Linked DNA regions of Homo sapiens: region 2 is linked to region 1. Evidence: promoter capture Hi-C in 16 types of primary human blood cells and fetal thymus (Javierre and others, 2016). All regions are on one chromosome and are shown on one strand. Each heading gives the region's core, a stretch centred on a gene start or on the middle of the fragment in contact. The rest is flanking DNA. Distances are from core to core; before and after follow the strand shown. Region 1 overlaps PACRGL (parkin coregulated like). Region 2 holds the start of QDPR (quinoid dihydropteridine reductase).

What was found. Contacts are between HindIII fragments. The CHiCAGO score rates a contact against its expected background, and 5 or more counts as called.
Region 2: the fragment with the promoter of QDPR here is called in contact with a fragment that was not itself captured in region 1 in 4 of 17 cell types (naive B cells, total CD4 T cells, naive CD8 T cells and 1 more); the score reaches 7.5 in naive B cells.

The regions. Positions count from the first base shown.
Region 1 is chr4:20,701,496-20,704,773 of GRCh38, reverse strand. It overlaps PACRGL (parkin coregulated like), which reads right to left. Exons shown (of 9, transcript NM_001258345.3): 2 at 241-308; 3 at 1-114. The coding sequence starts at 292. Among named protein-coding and RNA genes, the nearest start is that of PACRGL, 2.7 kb to the right of the region's middle. The HindIII fragment of the contact is 196 bases long and covers 1,820-2,015 here.
Region 2 is chr4:17,509,961-17,513,367 of GRCh38, reverse strand. It overlaps QDPR (quinoid dihydropteridine reductase), which reads left to right and starts at 1,278. Exons shown (of 7, transcript NM_000320.3): 1 at 1,278-1,418. The coding sequence starts at 1,314. RefSeq lists a silencer at 1,070-1,649. The HindIII fragment of the contact is 4,464 bases long and covers 253-3,407 here.

The sequences.
Region 1 (3,278 bases), core at 668-3,167:
GATGAAGTTTTCTTGCAGACTCTGGAGAACTGGTTGACAATGAGGATTTGCTTCCCTGAACTGCATTCCTGTGTTTTAACTGTGTGCTTGATGATGTCCTTTGATCATAGTTACCTGGAAAAAAACAGAACATCAATAGAAACCAGGTACAAGCAATAAAGTTCACCCTGCATCCATCTGTAGCACAGAAAGTGCCATGAACAAACTTGACCTCTTCACTTAAAAACAAAAGCTCTGTACCTGTTGCTCTGTTTTTCAACTGTGTACCTCCAGAGCCCTCTGATTTCTGCATTGCTTCCCTTTCACTCCTGCAGTTTAAAAAAAAAAAAGTTGATTTCAAAATTTGTTTGGAGGGGCATTTGTTATCAATAAAAAGACAAAACCAGAACAGAGTATACAATACAGTAAAAGACACACAAAAAAGTTGATATGGAGCAAAATACTGGAAAAGACTAATGAGAAAACATGAAATTATGTCAACTTCAATAGTATCAATAACAGCAAAATAATCATCTCCAAGAAATGATGTACAAAAGTCAACTTTTTTTCCATTCAAATTGTCAAAATAAACTGTTAGAAACTCACTTCCAATTCTCTGACCACATTAGAAAACACAGACTAGATTTCTGAAAGGAGTGGTTGGTACATTCCCTGTCATCTTCTCCATCTTCTCTGGCCTCTGTATTTCCAAAGCTCCAAATGTTAACATGTGCACATCAAGCTCTACTTTTCCAGTGACATAATGAACTCTCCTACCCAATGTATCACAAGCTCCTTAAACTGAATGTAACTAAAACTGAGGTTGTCACACTGAAGTTATTATGAACCCCTTGTTAACCCAGGGTACCACCAGTTTTCTGGTCCTCAGACTGAAAAACTTAGAATCACCATTGTCTCCTTTTCCTTCATTTCCTACACTCAATGCTACACGTGATGAGAAAGAAAGAGCTTTGGGCTCAAATATGGGTCTGCATCTCAGTTCTACCAATTATGAAATTTATGAATTTAGGCAGATTATTTAACCTCCCTAAACCTCGACTTCCTGACCTGTTTAAAGAGGGAAATAAAAGCCTGTCAAGGTTTTCTGGAGGTGCAAATGAAATTATCTCTCAAGTTACTCACCCAGGGAATACTGGTTCACTTTTCCCTTACACAGTTGCTTTTTTTCTGCTAATGGAGGACTCTAGTTCATACCCCAAGGTTTCCAGCTAATCCAATCAATTTCTACAATTGTATCTCTAGCAAGAAATACACACACACAAACACACACACACACACACACACACACACACACACTCATATACCCAAGTGCCTACTGGTATTTTTAGGCCAAGCTTCATTCCCAACTTCCATGAAGCCTTTCCTCATCTTGGTTTCTCAAATGTGTATTTCTATGGCATTGATTTCTATCCTGTGTCCTTATTTCTACTTGATTACTCTGTTCCCTCACTTCCACGACAATCTAGTTATTCTATTAGCACACGTCTCATTTTAATGCCTTTAATAATGACTGCCTCTCAAGTATAGTGTAAGATCTTCCCTTAGGACAACACAGGTAAAGTCCTCTTCCACCTCCAAATGACACTTTTTCAAATATTTGATGGCATTAACTCTTAACTCCTTCATTTTTTCTTCTTCAGGATAAACACTGATACTTTTTAAAATGATTCCTCACATGAAATGCTTTTAATCCACTTAACAAGTTAGAAATCCTCAAAAGGAGGACAAAGCTCCATGTTATAAAATTTAGCCAGATATCTCAAACATGATGTACCAGCTTAAAGTCTGATACCATGTAAAGATAACCTAAATGTAAGCTTGCTTCTGCACACTGAATAATTTCAATTTCCTTGATTTAGTACATTGATCTCATTTATCTCATCCCACTACCAGCAGATGACTTACTTCCCAGTATCACACTTCACCTCCATTCCCAGGGCCATTTTCTAATACTACGGTAATTAAAATCTCATTAAAGTTGTCAGATAATAGTCTAAAATAAGCTGAGAGAAGCTTTAAATATGTTAACCTACTATTGTACTTCTGTGATCATTCAACAAGTATTTAATATTGTGCCTGACTTCTGTTTTGAGAAGCTCCTGGAGGGGGAACAACACAAGTTTCTATTGAAAAAAAAAATGCATCAGTTTCCTCAACTCTATAATTGGGCATAATTACAGGAACTACTTTAAGTGTTGATGAAGACTAGTAAGAATATATGTAAAACAACATTTCCATAATGGGAGGCATGCAGTAAGGGCCACATGAGTCTTAGCTATTATTATAATTTTCTTTACAATGGTACAAAGTGTTCTTCAGTATTACTATTACTAATAGTGAAACCACATGTTTTGTCATTTTTAAAAAATCTGGCTTAACATCTTGGGCTACATCAATTTGAAGACCAGCTGAGGTCCAATTTCTCTTGATCATCAATTGTTAACAGCTGCAACAGATAAAAGCGATGCACAGCAAAGACGCGTACCCACAAACATAACAAGGGCACAGGCAGCCATATCAAATTATGATGCACATTTTTCAATACTACCTACCAATTCAGTGGAAGTTTTGGATGGAATTTTATGGCTAAATTTCTATCTTCCTTCACGTCAAAAAGTTGTTCCTGTAACAAACTAATGGGGAGGTGTTGCATTATATTTTGAATGAGTTCAAAAAGTCACCAAAACTCATTTGAAAAAGTTTTAAACATGGTAGAAAATCGAGCTTCTACAGTTTATGAGTATACAGGACAACTTTTATGTACAATATATAATTTTCAGCATTAAACATACAGTAATGCAAACACGTCTACATCCCCTTTCAAAATCCTGTATTAGAGAATTTCCTTCCAAAACAATTGCTTTTTCACTTAAAATTTTTATCCTTTACCTTAACGACAAATTACAGTTGGCTCTCCGTATATGCGGGTTCCACATCTATAGATTTGACCCAACCACGGATACGGAGAGCAGACTGGAGGACTTTGGCATGGGTGGATTTGGGTATCTGAAAGAGACTGGGGGGAGGGAGGGAGTCCTGGAGCCAATTCTCCACGGACACCAAGGGACGACGGGAAATGTAGTCAATTTTTTAAAATAATATCCACCTGGAAGCATGCCACTGACAAGCCTGGAGCATGAGTTGTTTGTGAAAGCAAGCTTTAAAAATCTTATCCTTGGTAACCCTTTCAAGTGGTTTTTCATTAAATAACATGTAGAGGATGGTGTAAAGGGGCAGTGATGGGGAGAAGCGAACCTGTAAGAACTATTTTGTGTTAC
Region 2 (3,407 bases), core at 29-2,528, 3.2 Mb after region 1:
TTGCTGAACAAAGGTGTGGTTAAGTGGAACTCTAGCTATTGAAGACCTGTGTTCAAATTCCCACTCTTCCAGACAAGTGTCTGTGACTCTCATGCCTCAGCTTTCTAATCTGCATAGGATTATCGTGTGGAGTAAAGTGAAATAGCACAGGCAGATCACTTAGCGCAGTGCCTTGGATATAAGGAGCACTAAATAGATGGTGCTCTCCTCTCCATCCAGCCTCCTAGCAGTTCTATTTCTGATAATGAAGCTTCTGACAACAAAATGTGCTGCTGGCTGCATCCTCTTCTCTAGTGACATATTTCTGCATGCTTTACCTGGCACAAGTTTACTGAACAAACATCTGTGTCTGCTGTGTACAAGGTTATATGTGGATGGGAAGTGACACAAAGATGTATGTAATACAGGGTTCTGCTATCAAGAAGGTTATGAGAGTGTTAGAGCTCTGGTTCTCTATCAGTGATGAATTTGCCCCTAGGAGACAACTGTTAAATCTGGAGATATTTTTGATTCTTATGAGTGAGGGGTAGGGGTTTGCTATTGATTTCTAGTATATGCAGGCCAGGGATGCTGTAAATATCCTACAGTACCCAGGGCAGCACCTGTCACAAATAATTATCTGGCCCAAAATGTCAGTAGTGCTGTAGATGAGAGGCTCTGTGTTAAAGATACAGGCCATGGGCAGAAATAACTAATATACAAGGGAGAAAATGCCAGGATCTGTGTCTGGCGATGGGTGGCATATAGTAAAAGGGCCATTTGGATTAATGGGTATAAATTTACGGTTAGATAGAAGAAATAAGACCTAGTGTGGTTTGTCTCGTCTCGGCGGTGGACTTTCAGCTCCTTGAGCGGAGCGACCTCTTCTGTTTTTTTGGCAGGTGGGAATACTTAAATCTCTATTTTGATGCACAATTAAAAATAAAAAATTGCCAAAACAGTGGTCGAAAATTGTACTATACTATATTTTACATGCTTACACTTCACAAATTAATGCTCGTAAAACACCCGCTCTCCACCCTCCTCGCCCTTAGCCCGGCTCGCTGCACGCCCCGAGGCCCAGCACTTGCTGGCGGGTGGGAGGAGGGGCTTCGCCGATGTCCCCGTCCCAGGGGCAGGGCCTGGCCGAAGTTACAGTCCCTCCGGGTGGCGGGGCGCCCCGAGCGTGGCAGCGCGCTAGGCGGCAGCAGCGGGCGCGGAGCGGGGCGCGGCCGCCGCGCGTTCCCTCTTGGCGGGGTTGGCCGGCCGGGGCGGGGCGCGGCGCTCCGGCTCGAGGCATTCGGAGCTGCGGGAGCCGGGCTGGCAGGAGCAGGATGGCGGCGGCGGCGGCTGCAGGCGAGGCGCGCCGGGTGCTGGTGTACGGCGGCAGGGGCGCTCTGGGTTCTCGATGCGTGCAGGCTTTTCGGGCCCGCAACTGGGTAATGCTGCGGGCTGGGGCTGCTGGGTCTCCGCGGGGGTGGCCGGGGGCTTTCGTGTGGAACCCGGCGGGGGGCAGTCTAGAGGAAGGTGGGGGCCCCTGTGCACCCCCTGACTCGTGTTGCTTGCACGTGCGCGCACAGGTCTACGCGTCTATTCCTGTTTCCGAGTGCGTGCGCACGCCAGTCCCAGGGCGCTGGGCCTTTGCTGTGCAAGGAGGTGCTCCGTGGGCCTCCGCCAGACCCAAAAAGTCCGGCGTGACTCGGGAGAGAATTCCAAAGGGGAGGAACGGGAGCAGGGGTGAGAGGACGGAGAGAGAGTGTAGAAGGAAGGCTCTAGAATGAGACAGCCCAGTCCCGGTTACTAGTCATGAGACCGCGTATTGATTACCTAACGCCGTAGGACCTCGGTTTCCCCATTTGTACAACGGAGATTCTGACAGTGAGAGTTGGGACGATTAGATGAGATAATTGGTGTCGTTGCACATAAATTACCTGACGCCTGGTAAAAACTGTTTAAATGCTGTCTATTAATGTTACTATTACTACCCACCCCTGTTCTTTTAGCCCCATTGGATCTGACAGTTTGAAGGCTCAGCACGGAAAAACGCTGACGGCTTCTTTGCTCTGCAAAGACTATTTCAACTACTTTGCATAGTCAGGTGTCAATTTCCAGGAGGCGGCAAGTCGGAGCAGAGCTGATACATGGCCAAAGACCCTTGACCTCAGCCGCTCAGCAGGCCTCAGCAATTTCCCGGTGGAGACACTGCCAGCGGCAGCGTTCTGGGAGCTTAGTTAGCAGCAGCAGCACAGCAGCCTGGGCAAGAGTTCCCCTGGGACCAGAAAAAGGCTTTCAGGATTTTCTTTAAAAAAAAACTATCTAATTTTTATAGATGAAGGGGGCAAAAGTACAGTTTAGTTACATGGATATGTTGTGTAGTGGTGAAGTCTGGGCTTTTAGTGTAACCATCACCCAAATAGTGTACATTTACCAAGGTTTTCTTGTTGCTCAGAATCTGGTACAGGAATATGCTTCTGAAGAATTCAGTCACACCACTCCCTTCCTGCCACCCATCTGCTCAGTGCTTGGGGACACTGATGAGGGCGCTTTCCCAGGTCTTCAGAGATGCATGGTGGTGACAGAGGCAGCACTTCTGCCAAGGGCCAGGCACTGTGTTCCCAGTACCAGAGTTCCCATAGACTCTTAATGCCCCCAATATCTTTAAGGCAGTAGATCCTGTTAGCGTCATGTGTTAGAGGGTGAAGGCTGTGCTTTCTCCTGGTGGTGGCACTTTGGTTTACCTTGGTCTTGGCAGAATCTGGAGAGCTGATTTACCTCTGGCTCTTGGTCTTTCCCCTCCGAGCTTCTTCCTGCCATCTTAGGGAGGGCTAGGATGATGGAGACTTTTCATTGTTTCAGTATCCCCCATGGGATAACAAGTTAATTAATAATATAACAAATGTTGATGAATAGATGCTGTGTTTACAGCTTAAGGTAGAGATAATTATCTCTGGGGACTTCAGACCAAGAGACCCTGAGTAAGGACTGAACATCCCCTGTGCCAGGAGCTTTAGCATCTTCCATTTCATTTAATTCTTACACTGACCCTGTTAATCATCAACAAACAACCTCTTTTGTTGGGAACCTCTGCCCGGCATCGGAGTGAGAAAGCCACTCTGGCAGAGCTGGGATTCAAACCTGATCTGTCTGATTTCCAATCCTAAAGTCCATCCCTCTCTGCTGCAGGACAGGGATCCTTTGTGAGCTGAATCTGGTCTGCCACCTGTTTTTGTACAGCCCAAGAGTTAAGAATAGTTTTACATTTTCAGGTGGTTGAAAAGAAAATCAAATGAAGAATTATATTTTGTTGTATATGAAAATTAATGAAATTCACATTTCAGCTCTGAAGATTTATTGGAACACAGCTGCACTTATTTTTTCCCCCTATTTATTGCTGTGTTCTGTTACAATTGCAGATTTGAGTAACAACA